4 separate regions of the Homo sapiens genome follow, and all the other regions are linked to region 3. The links are contacts of gene promoters, found by promoter capture Hi-C in blood cells and fetal thymus (Javierre and others, 2016). All regions are on one chromosome and are shown on one strand. Each heading gives the region's core, a stretch centred on a gene start or on the middle of the fragment in contact. The rest is flanking DNA. Distances are from core to core; before and after follow the strand shown. Region 1 overlaps MSH3 (mutS homolog 3). Region 2 overlaps RASGRF2 (Ras protein specific guanine nucleotide releasing factor 2). Region 3 holds the start of RASGRF2 (Ras protein specific guanine nucleotide releasing factor 2). Region 4 overlaps MSH3 (mutS homolog 3).

Region 1 (3,117 bases), core at 108-2,607, 240 kb before region 3:
TGGAAGAATACTTTTACCCTAAAACTTTCCATGTGCTTTTGCAGTTGGTCCCCTCCCTTCACATCTGGCCCTAGGCAATTATTAATTTTCCACCAGTATATTTTACCTTTTACAGAATTTCAAATACAGGATATCTTACAATATATATTAAAATTTTTTGGCTTGATTTCTTTCACAAAATATGATTTTTTGAGGTTCATTTTGCTGCATATTGTCAAAGTATTTGAAAATGTGACAGCTCATTTTCTCCTGGCTCTGTTCTGTAGTACTTTTGTCTTTTTAACAATTACCCTGTTATCCTTTTCTCCCCATTTTAGATTCTGTTCATAGGAGTTTTTCCTCAGGGTAAGATTTGTCCTAAAAAAGTGCTTTGCATCACTGGTTTTGTGAATTCATAGGGCCTAGAGTTCTCAAGCCCCTTCAGGCTTTACTGTGGACTCCTTGTAGTCACTATTATCAAATATACAAACTGCACTCCCAATTTCAGCTCCTCAAAATGTCCTACTGTGCTTTCCAGTGAGTACCTCGTTGCTGTTTTGTGTTGTTTCTGTTTTCCGATTGTTAGAGTTCTGTTGCTTTTGTCTGCTTCTTCTCACATGGTTGCTGATAGCATTTGTATCTTATTGTTCATCCCACCTGCTTGCATTTTGGGGTTCTTAATATCTTGAGATGCAGTTATAGTGTAGTACATGTTATCTGTGGGTTTTAGTTTGGTTATTAAAGTCTCTTTTTATGGCAGGATTTAGGGAGACTGAAAAACTATGCTTGAATCTAACAAAAAACAACAATTATTTCAATAAAATATTATATCAAGGAAAATAGCAAAAAATTACAAATGTGTGTTACATTGATAAAATGATACATTTATTTCTACTTTTCATAATATTGAGGGAGGGAGTGTTCTGCTTTTGTGACGAGGTATAGCCATTTGTGTTTCTGTGTTTTCTGTATCTTTTACATATGTCTACCACATTACTGTCTGTTGTCTTAGATTGTAAACTAAGAAACAGTGATTGTTGTGTGGCATATGCCCATGAGAATTTGTTTAACTGTTTTTGTGAAGAAAAAAAATATATAAACTATAGATTTTCTGTCATAAATCCTTCTTTCTGAATTTTAACCTAATTGTAAAGCAAAATAGGTAATAAAGTTTCACTATTGTTTATTTATTACAAGGCATTGTAATTGAACTTTTAAATCAACTCATACGATCTCCTTGCTCAGGAAGGAAAATCATAAAAATAGAAAAAAGCTTGCTTTATTTTGGTGCTGGGGATGGTTTCAAGTCTTTTTTCAGTTTTATGTAGAGACCAAGAAAGTGTTCTGCATAGGGAGCCAAAGAAAAAAATATTGAGAAACTTTCTAAAGTATCTTAACTCAGTTGTTTATAGTATAGCTTTACTTTACAGATAACTTTTGATGTTCTTAGATCATTAGATATACCTACATCAATATACATAAGATAAGCTTCCAAAGGAAATACTCTTTGCTTTGGGAATACTCTTTCCTATCATCTACTAATTTTCATTATAGCAGCAGTCTTTTATTTGTATAGGTCAGTGGTTCTTTAACTTTAATGTGCAGTAGAGTCCCCTGATGCTGGGCCGGGCCCCACCCAACACCTGTTCCTGTTTCAGATAAAGACCAGAGAGAGGTATGTGTACGTATCTAAGAGTGAGCACAACCAAAGCTGTATAAAACCTTCATGGAGGAAATTACAGAACATTACTGTTGGATATAATAGACATGAATAGAAGAATATACCAGCTTTGATAATGTGATACCTCTATTTAAGATGTTATTTCTCTCTAAATTAATTCATTACATATCAAATTAAAATACCAATAAGGGCTGGGCGCAATGGCTCACGCCCATAATCCCAGCACTTTGGGAGGCCGAGGTGGGCAGATCGCTTGAGTCCAGGAGTTTGACACCAGCCTGGGCAACATGGCGAAACCCTGTATCTACTAAAAATACAAAAAAATTAGCTGGGCGTGGTAATGCCTATCTGTAGTCCTAGCTACTTGGGGCTGATGAAGGAGGATTGCTTCAGCCTGGGAGGTCGATGATGCTGCAATGAGCCCTGGTCCAGCCTAGGCGACGGAGTGAAACTCTGTCTAAAAATAAATAAATAAATAAATAAATAAATAAATAAATAAAGTAATCCCAGTAAGTTTCTTGTGAAGACCGAAGGTAAGTGAACCTAAAATTCACAAAGAAAATCAAAGGGCCAGGAGTAGCCAAGACAATCTTGAAGAGCAAGGTAGGGACCTTGCCACTTTAGATATAGATGCCAAGCCCTAGAAATTAAGAGACTGTGGTCGTGATACAGAGATAGACAAAAAGACCAGTGGAACAGCATGGAGAATCCAAAAACATATATAGAAATGCAATATGCAGTGAAAGTAACATTATAAATCATCAGGGACGTATGGAATGCTAATTGCTGCTTTGATCATTAATTATATGGAAAATGAAATTGTATTTATAACTTCACACTATCCACAAAGATAAATTCTGGTGAATAAATTCAGAAAGCAGATCTTAAATTTATTAGAAAATATAAGAAATAATAAAATACTTAGCTGCTGTTAAAATGTAAAAAGCACATGTATCTTCATGTATAAATCTTAGAAATAGTGTAACATTGAGGATAAAATCAATTTGTATGGTTATGATAAAGTACCACTCATACAAAATGAAAAGCATGAAATGATACAGTTTTTTATAAAACATGAAAACATGCATGGTAATATACATCACATTCAAGATAATGTTTGCTTCTTTTATTAATTTTTTTTTTTAATTTGAGACGATGTTTCACTCTTGCTCAGGCTGGAGTGCAGTGGTGTGATCACAGCTCATTGCAGCCTTGACTCCCTGGGCTCAAGTGATCCTCCCACCTCAGCCTTCCAAGTAGCTGGGACTACAGGCATGTGCTACCGTGCCTGGCTAATTTTTGTATTTTTTGTAGAGAGAGCCATGTTGCCCAGGCTGGTCTTAAACTCCTGAGCTCAGGCAGTCCTCCTGCCTCGGCCTCCCAAAGTGCTGGGATTACAGGCATTAAGCCACCGTGCCCGGCCAGCGTTTCCTTCTGGAAATCGTAGAGGGATGTGA
Region 2 (3,060 bases), core at 357-2,856, 210 kb after region 3:
GCACCTGGCCGTGAACTTTACTTCTCCTGACAAAAGCCCTTGTCTGCTTACAGATACTCCAAGGATACCTAAGATAAGCAAGAAAGACACAGCCTCTATTGTCACATGTGAGGGAGTGGCGGTGTTGAGGAAAGGCCTCTGTGCACAGACGGGAGGGATTTATGGATACTGAAGGGGAAGGATGGGGGAGGGACGAAGGGCTGGTAATTGAGGTCAGCGAAAGGATGGTATCAGATGCATGGTGGGCAACCTGAGCTTCATCCAAGGAGACACTAAGGAAGGGACCTTAGAGGCATCCAGATAAGCTCCTTTTGTGACCAAAAAGGACACTGAGAACCCGAGATGAGGGGATTTTTCTAAGGCCGTTCATTGAGCTAAGCCGATTTAAAAATTCCCAGTCCCTTCTGAGATGTTCTTCCCAGCTCATCTTTAGCTTTCCCCAGGGGTAAAGGAAAAGAATGAGGACGAAACTGCAGAGAGCTTTTGAAAGAAGGGAAATTAGGGTGTCTCCTGATCCCCCTCATGAAATGACTTCAGTCTTTAAGTCATAGGTGGCAGGGTCTTCCCCGAGTGAAGAGACGGGATGATCCTGGCAGTATGGAGTTAAAGCATCACCACACTGAGCTGTTAGCACCATTGTGAGTTATGTTACATTGCCCTCCATGGGTAGAGTGACGGATACAAGGCTGTCAGCATAAAGGACCTGGCCTGTCCAAGTCTGGTCTTCCCAGCAGAAATTCCTACTTAACACAGTTAGAAGAACTCACTGTAATACATACACACAGCAACCAATTTATCCAAGGCCTGTTTTGTATCAGTCCTGAGGACTGGAGGCCAACCAAGACGTAGCTATTGTTTCTGCCCCATAGCAGCCTCGGATGAGGGGGCAGGGCAGAAAAGCATCACCAGTAGGGACACAAACAAGAGAAACTGCAAAACCGAGAGATTGTTAAAATTTGCAATCATCAATCAGTCAGTTGTTAAACTAATCCACTTGAATAGAATTCTACAGCAAGTTGGTTAGAATCCGTCTGAAATTCTTAACTGCAGGGGTTTCACTGCACACATCAGTGTGCACTCAGTGATAGTGGTGTTCTCCTCGCTGGGCTTTCTGTAAGTTCCAACGCAGGGCACAGAATTGAAAATGGAAGCCCCCATGAGCAGCTGCAGGCAGGGATGCCGTCACTCTGACCCCTCGGCCTCTCCTCTCTGTGGCTGCCTCCAGGGCACATGAGGAAAAGCAGATGCCTCCCCTGGCAAGTTCTGATGGAAAGATCAAAGGTGGGGAGTAGGAGCAACGAAGAGCATGACTGAACAATGACGGGGTCAGGCCGACTCGGCACTCAGACACAGCAGAGCCATTCTCTGGAGAGACTCTTAGGGTGGTGCTGCTGGGACTCACAGGAAGACTTCAGATCTTAAATGGATATTCTGCACTGCCAGACAATCCTAGTAAAGTCATGTTCCTACACTGCCTTTTACCCTTTACCGCCTTCCCCTCTTCTCAGATCTCCACATCCCCTTGCAGGCTTGGCTGATGATCTTGTCTCATATTTCACAGCAAAAGCAGATACAAATGGTCAAGGATGACCTCTTCCCTCCACTGATTTCGCCAGCACACTACACTTGGTCTCAGCCTCTGCCCTCTCCCCGAGGCTGTGGAGTAATCATCCCCACACTGCCCTTGGGTCAGCCCCTCCGCTTTGCCCCATCCCATCCCTTTTCACCTCCTTAAGAACTGTTCTCCTGCAGTTACCCTTTTCTCTATTGACATCAATTTCCCCCTTTATCAATCATTCCTATAGCATGCCAGCGTCTTTTTTTTTCTTCTCTTTTTTTTTTTTTTTTTTTAAGACAGAGTCTGGCTCTGTCGCCCAAGTTAGAGTGCAGTGGCGTAACCTTGGCTCACCACAACCTCCGCCTCCTGAATTCAAGCAATTCTTCTGTCTCAACCTCCCAAGTAGCTGGGGCTACAGGCGCACACCGCCACGCTCAGCTAATTTTTGTACTTTTAGTAGAGTTGGGGTTTCACCATATTGGTCAGGCTGGTCTCGAACTCCTGACCTCAGGTGATCCACCCACCTCAGCCTCCCAAAGTGCTCAGATTACAAGTGTGAGCCACTGCCCCCAGCACCGGTGTCTTAATATCACCCATTTTACCAGCTATGGCTCCCTTCCTCTGCTTCTTTTCAAAGCACAATGTGTTGAAAATATTGGCCATACTTAATGTCTCCACTTCATCACCTTCTTTTTCCCCTCAATTTGGACTTTTACTCCGTCACTCTTGGAATGACTGACCCAGGTCACTGACAACCGATAGCTTGCCAGAGTCAAATCCAATCCCCTTGTCTTACTCAACCTCTCAGTGGCATTTGACACAGCGATCACTTCTTCCTTGTTGAAATATTTCCTGTCCTCTTGGGTTCCATGAGACTAATGTGCCTGGGTTTCCAGGACTTGCTCTCCTCCTTCTTTTGGTCTGCTTTGCTGGCTCTTTGACCAATATCTCCTGGTTGTGGGGCCACGGGCTTTGTCTGGTACACTCTGTACCTATGTGAGCCCATCCAGACTTCTGATTTTTAAGTACTGTTTAAATGCTGATACTCTCAATTTGCATTTCCAGTGTGATCATTAGATGTCTAGAGGCATCTCACACTTAACTATGTCTAAAATCAAACTCTTGATTTCCTCCCTCAAACCTGCCCTTGCCCCATCTCAGGAAGTGGTATCATCATCTACCCAGCTGAACAGGTCCTGAACAGTGGAGCCATTCCTGATTCCTCTTTCCCTCAGACCTTAAATTCGTTTTTGTAGGGCTTCCATAACAAAGTACCTCAATCTGGGTGGCTAAAAAAACAACGATTTATTTTCTCACTGTTCTGGAGGCCAGAAGTCCAAAACCAAGGTGTCATCAGGGCCATACTTTCTGGAGGCTCTGGGGGAGAATCCTGCCTTGCCTCCTCCTAGCTTCTGGTGTTTGCTGGCAATCCTTGGGGTTCCCCAGCTGGTGGCATCATGACTCCCAATATCTGCCTCTTTCATCACATGGTCTTCTTCCCT
Region 3 (2,792 bases), core at 10-2,509:
GGGGGTGGCTCTTGGTTTTCTGGTTGTACCTGTCAGATTTGTTAATCAAATGAATCCAGTCCTACAAACGATGAGCCTGTGACAGCTGGCCTTTGGGGTTGGATTCTGCCCTGGGCAGCAAAGTGTCCCTTATTTGGGTATTTTTTTCCAGGTTGAAAACTCGGCACTTAAAATTTAGCATCTTACCACTGTGAAATAACAGGCATTCCGAAAGAACTTCGGCATCTGATGCCTTTCCGGGAACACTTGGGCCACTCTCCTTAACCTTTACCGGCAGTTTTAAATACTACAATGCAGGTACAAGCAGAAAAGCCAAGGATGCGGGCTATGCAAAGCCACTCTGTGACTCTACCTACTGCCATGGGAACGTACTTATGGATGTGGCATGTGAGTGTGTGTGTATGTGTGAGTGGGTTTGTGAAAGTGTGTGGATTCGTGCGAATACGTGTGTGAGTGCTTTGTGTGTATTTTTGGATGAATTTGTGAATGTACATGTGTGTTCATCTGTGTGTGTGTTTGATTATCTGCTTATGAGTCTGTATGATTGTGAACGTGTGAGTATATGTGTGCTGTTTGTGTGACTGTATGAGTGTAATGTGTGTATGAATGTATGTTTGAATGTGGGTTTGAGTGAATGTGTGGGTTGTGTGTGAATGTGTGTGTAAGTGAGCATATCACTGCGTGCATGTGTGTAGCTCCTTAAGTGTGTATCTGAATGTGGGTTTTATTTTTGTGCGCGGGAACGCACATTGTGGGTGTATTTGTCTATATGCATTTGTGCGTTGTGACTGTGTGTTGAGTGTGAGCGTTGTGAGAATGTGTATTTGTGTGTCATGAGTGTGTGCGCGTGTGTTTTTGTGCATATGTGCGCGCATTGTGTTTGTGTGCATTTGTGAGTGTATTTTTGTGCGTCTGAGTGTGTGCATTGTGGATCTGGGTGAATGTACTGGTCTGCGTGTGTGTGGGTGTGCGTGTGTGTGTGCGCGCGTTGTGCGCGAGTGTGCGAGCGCGTGTGAGCGGGTGTGTGGTGCGGCCGGGCGCCTCCACCTCCCTGATCCGCCCCATCCCGGCGGGCGCCCGAGCAGAGGCAGCGGCCCGGGCCGGGGCGGGCGAGGGAGGGACGCGAGCCGGGGCAAGCGGGCTGCGCCACCGCCGGCGCCGCGCCGACTTTGCCCTTTAAATCGGTCTCCAAGCCGATTACAGCTGAGCTCCCACGTGACGTTTTACCTTCTGTCTCCCGGAGCGCGTTGCCCGAGGACAGTCCTTCCCCGGCTGCCGCCCCAGCCCGCCGCGGGGGCTCGGCTCCCGCAACTTTGGGCGAAGCGGCGGCCGGCTCGGGCGCCCTCGCGGGGCCGCGCTCCACGCGGGCGTTGGGGGCTTGGGGGGCTCCGGGGGCTCGGCCGGGAGGGTGGTGGTTAGGGCGGAGAGCGTGCCTCGGCCCCAGCCCGCGCCCCTGCCACCGCGCGCCGCGGCCTCCCGAAAGCGGGCGGGGTGCCCTGCGCGCGGCGTGGGGAAAGGGGGCGCCCTTCGCCGGCCGGGACCTGAGCGGTCGCGCCCTCGAGGGAGCCAGCTGGGCCATGGCCGCGAGGCAGGGGTGAGACCGGCGGCCACCCGTGAGCCCTCCGCACCCGCACCATGCAGAAGAGCGTGCGCTACAACGAGGGGCACGCCCTGTACCTGGCCTTTCTGGCGCGCAAGGAGGGCACCAAGCGCGGCTTCCTGAGTAAGAAGACGGCCGAGGCGAGCCGCTGGCACGAGAAGTGGTTCGCCCTCTACCAGAATGTGCTCTTCTACTTCGAGGGCGAGCAGAGCTGCCGCCCGGCGGGCATGTACCTCCTGGAGGGCTGCAGCTGCGAACGAACGCCCGCGCCACCCAGGGCCGGCGCCGGGCAGGGAGGCGTCCGAGACGCGCTGGACAAGCAGGTACCGCGCGCCTTCTCTCCGCGGTCTCCCAGCCTTGATCGCCGCACTCCCTTGCCGTCCTAATCCGGGGATCAGGGGTCGGGGGTCGTGAAAGAGTGCGGGGACTATGCTCCGAAATCCCCCCGCGTCACCAGTGGCGGGACATCTCCACGCTCCTTCCGATCTTCATCCAGGGATTCTCCCATCTCCATACCCCTCCACCCCACTGCCAAGTGATCAGTCAGAATAGTGGCCCGACTTGCTTTCATTACCCTGGTAGAGGTCGAGTCGTTTCAGCTTCTCTGCCAACCATCTATTGCTTCTCTAGACCTGGCTCGCCAGATTTTTGTCTGGTGACATGTATTGACACCTGTTGGGTGTAGATTGGCAAGACGGAACTAACTTATTTGGAAAAGTTTGATTTCTGCCATACCCGGCTGGCGCGTGTAGATTTCTTTGCCTGCAGATGTTTGACCACTGGTTGGGCTGGGAACAAGCGGGGCTCCCAAGCCGGACAGACACTTTCTGTTGGTCATTTTCAATCAGTCTTTGTGATTTCGGTCAGTTGGCCTTGCTAACATTTGACCTGCTGGGTGTAATTATGAAGGTAAATGTGTATTCATATTCCTCAGGATTAATATTTGGTAGCCACATTCTTGCTATGTTTAAAAATGTGGGCATTTTTAAAGAACGCTTCTGTACTTTTAAATGAATGCTTTGAAAATGAATGCGACCTTTTAATTCTGGGTCATAATTTTATTAGTTTTGCTGTGTGCTCATGGTCGCGGGGTGGGGGAGAAAAACCCTTTAAGTCTTAGTGATCCCAGCCCCTCATTCCTGCAAACACAAAGTTTGTATGTTTCCAATCACCGTTTGGTTATTAAAGTTAA
Region 4 (3,126 bases), core at 583-3,082, 200 kb before region 3:
GTTTAAAGCAGAGGTGTGACATGAACAGATTTGGGCTTTAGGAAAACCACTCAGGCTGCAGTGTGGAGAATGAGTTGGAAAAAGGAATGGAAGTGGGGAGGAAAGTTAGGAGGCTGTTTCAATATAATTTGGACTTAGACTATAGTAGTGGCTGTAGAGGTGGAGAGTGGTGGATGGATTACAGAGTCCACCCTGCTGAGAATGGAAGAGCCAGCCCGTGTGTGTACAAAGCTCTGTCTTGCTCTCCTGCATCGTACTAACAAATGGTCCTTCTGCATGCAAGAGTATGAGCCAGAGAAAAATGGAACAAAAATGAGGCCTGAAGTTAGTATAGAAGCTCTGTATTATGAAAAGGCATGATCTCACAGGTAGTTAAGGATAATAAAGACAAAAGCACTCACTAAATCGAAAGTCCTCAGTCTGATTGTAATCTAGCCAGGATCCTGATCTAAGATTTGCTTTTCATATCAGTGTGTATGATGTCAACAGAATTTTGAGAGACACCAAGTTTATTCAGTGGCTGATGCCTCCTTTCCCCCAAAACATCAGTTCATTCTTTCATCCACTTGTTTATTTATTCATTCATTCATTTACAAACACTTTAAATCCTTACTGAGGACTTACTACTCACCAGACATGTTTACTTATCTTAGTTTTTAATACTACAGATGGTCATTATACCTAGTGTGGGCCTTTGATGTTTATAGGTACTTCATGGACCACATCTCATTGATGATACATTTAGTCCATCAGATTTCCGTTTTAAGTTGAGTCATCACTTAAGGTGTAGCCGTTGGTAAAATCCCGCAGCACTGATCTCCTATGTATCTGAATGTCATATCCTCTGCACTTTCTATTGCTACTCCCCAATCTTTGGTCAGGGTCAATATGTTTAATTTAATTCATTCAAACAGTTGGTCAGTTCAGCCATCACCACCACCACTAGGTCGTCTTGTTGGTCATTGTTTAACTATTATATTAGCCAAGGTAATGCAAGCTATCAGCAAACAAATTCTCCGTCTAAGTGGCTTAAATACATTAGAAGTTTATTTCTTGCTAATATAAGTTCAATTGGTAACAGATCCGGGAATGGTGGATTTTCTGCTCCACTGTGGGCTCAGGCTGATGGAGTTACCATGAGGCTCACAAGCTTGCCTAGCTGGCAAAGGGGATTAGGAGAATGTGAAAGCTTATTCAGGAAGTTTTTATGGGCCAGGGCTAGAGGTGGCTTACATCATTCCCACCCATGCTTCAGAACTGAGGTACATGGCCATACCTAACTACAGGGGAGACTGGGAAATGTAGTCTTTGTGTTTGCTTGGTGAGCCTGTCTTTGTCAAACCCAGCTAGTGAATTTCCTTGTATGATACCTGCTCTTTGATTCAGATAATAATAAGAGGCATGGAAGGACCAGATATATTGTTGTAGGACTTTTTCCTTAGTTCAGTTAAAGACAGCGAGGTTGGGGGAGGGTGGTCCTCATCACACAGCCATGTAAAATTAGGCCCGCAGACAATTCGAAGGAGGAGAAAAATGGAATTTATTGGGCAAAGAGCAATAAAAAGGGAAACAAAGACTCTCCAACAAGACAGAACGAGAATCTTGCTAGTATGCTTCCCGCCTCACAGACTGTAATCCCAGGTTCCACCCAGGAGGAGGAGGGGCCAGGCTCCTCCCTGCTGCCAAAGGCGTGAACTTCTGTGTCTCCACCCCAGTGCACCCTCCTCTCAATGCATACGCCCATTGGAGTTTTGTCAGGGAGTCCTTCCCACATGACTATCTCAGTATGAAGGAGGAGTTTCCTTTGTGCCTAATAAGTGGCTGTGTCACATTCCTGGGCATTAGAGTGGGAAATGTCTATATTCTGAATTCCTAACATATCTGATTATTGCTATTACTCTTTTCTCACAGGGAAATAAATGCCCGGCTTGATGCTGTATCGGAAGTTCTCCATTCAGAATCTAGTGTGTTTGGTCAGATAGAAAATCATCTACGTAAATTGCCCGACATAGAGAGGGGACTCTGTAGCATTTATCACAAAAAAGTAAGTGTGATAGAAATCTATTAAAGCTGACAGTGTTCTTCAGCTTGAGGACACTATATATTAAAAGAAAACTTTTGAGAGCTCTATTATTATTTTATTTTGTAAAATCTTACAAATAGCATGCGAGAGTAGCTGAATCCTCAGAAATTTTAATAGTACAAATTAGAGTTATTCCAATTTTTCCATTGTAGAAAATAAAGTTTTCTCATGTGCCTTAACTACAGCAACATAGAGGCCCTTCTGTTATAATATAGGGTATTCTCCTGTTTCATCCTGAAAGTACAGACTATTATCAAAATAGGAAATTTATGTAGACTTGTTATTTTAGAAAAAAAAAACCTTATTTCTTTTGATCTTAGAACAACTTATTGTTTCTTAAACTATGGAAAAATCTGCTAGTATAACATCTGTGGTGGTAGTTAGTATGCAAACAAGCTTGGATATTGAAGGTGAGTAAAGGATTATTTTGATTTTTATCACTTAAGCTTTACAGTTTGAGTCATAGCAAAAATGAGTCATTTTCCACGGTTAGGGAAATAATTTAGGTTATCTTCAAAATATGCCTAAAATTAAAAAAATTATTAATATTTTTAAATGATAAAACACTATAAACTATGGTGTTTTACTTTTTGCAGAAGTCATTCACATACCTTATACTCTTTGTTCCTTATCAAAACTTTATGACATTGAGAAGTTACTATTTTTATTACCTTCTTACTAATAAGAAATTATATCTAATGCTATATATGTGTGTGTATATATATATGTATATATATAAAATGCTGCAACCACTTGAATTACCTTGGCTAATATGATGATGCTCAGAGGTTTAGTAACTTGCTAGTAACAGAATCTGTATTTAGACCCAGGATTCTTGACTGTGTTTTCATTGGCTGTGTCTTTTGGATGCTATCATGTTTGATGTAGTTATCTTGACTGCCATTTTTTTTTTCTGGTTGCCACTTTTCATAAGCAAATTTTATTTTTCCTCCAAATGTAACTCCTTGCCAATTTAATAATTTTACTGTGTAACCATTTTTATGTGCCTAAATTTTTATTTTATTTTGTTTTATTTTGTTTTA

Evidence for each region. The method cuts DNA at HindIII sites, captures the fragments that hold promoters and counts their contacts. A CHiCAGO score of 5 or more calls a contact.
Region 1: a contact is called between a fragment that was not itself captured here and the fragment with the promoter of RASGRF2 in region 3, in 1 of 17 cell types (M2 macrophages). The highest score is 5.1, in M2 macrophages.
Region 2: a contact is called between a fragment that was not itself captured here and the fragment with the promoter of RASGRF2 in region 3, in 1 of 17 cell types (endothelial precursors). The highest score is 8.8, in endothelial precursors.
Region 4: a contact is called between a fragment that was not itself captured here and the fragment with the promoter of RASGRF2 in region 3, in 4 of 17 cell types (total CD8 T cells, naive CD4 T cells, naive CD8 T cells and 1 more). The highest score is 6.6, in total CD8 T cells.

The regions. Positions count from the first base shown.
Region 1 is chr5:80,720,974-80,724,090 of GRCh38, forward strand. All of the region lies in intron 8 of MSH3 (mutS homolog 3), which reads left to right. Among named protein-coding and RNA genes, the nearest start is that of DHFR, 68 kb to the left of the region's middle. The HindIII fragment of the contact is 215 bases long and covers 1,251-1,465 here.
Region 2 is chr5:81,166,478-81,169,537 of GRCh38, forward strand. The region is part of intron 17 of RASGRF2 (Ras protein specific guanine nucleotide releasing factor 2); the gene reads left to right. Among named protein-coding and RNA genes, the nearest start is that of CKMT2, 65 kb to the right of the region's middle. The HindIII fragment of the contact is 4,695 bases long and covers 1-3,060 here.
Region 3 is chr5:80,959,104-80,961,895 of GRCh38, forward strand. RASGRF2 (Ras protein specific guanine nucleotide releasing factor 2) reads left to right here and starts at 1,260. Exons shown (of 27, transcript NM_006909.3): 1 at 1,260-1,923. The coding sequence starts at 1,636. RASGRF2-AS1 (RASGRF2 antisense RNA 1) reads right to left here and starts at 1,804. Exons shown (of 4, transcript NR_105015.1): 1 at 1,678-1,804. RefSeq lists an enhancer at 1,363-2,084. The HindIII fragment of the contact is 16,452 bases long and covers 1-2,792 here.
Region 4 is chr5:80,759,635-80,762,760 of GRCh38, forward strand. It overlaps MSH3 (mutS homolog 3), which reads left to right. Exons shown (of 24, transcript NM_002439.5): 13 at 1,912-2,044. Among named protein-coding and RNA genes, the nearest start is that of DHFR, 110 kb to the left of the region's middle. The HindIII fragment of the contact is 1,290 bases long and covers 1,188-2,477 here.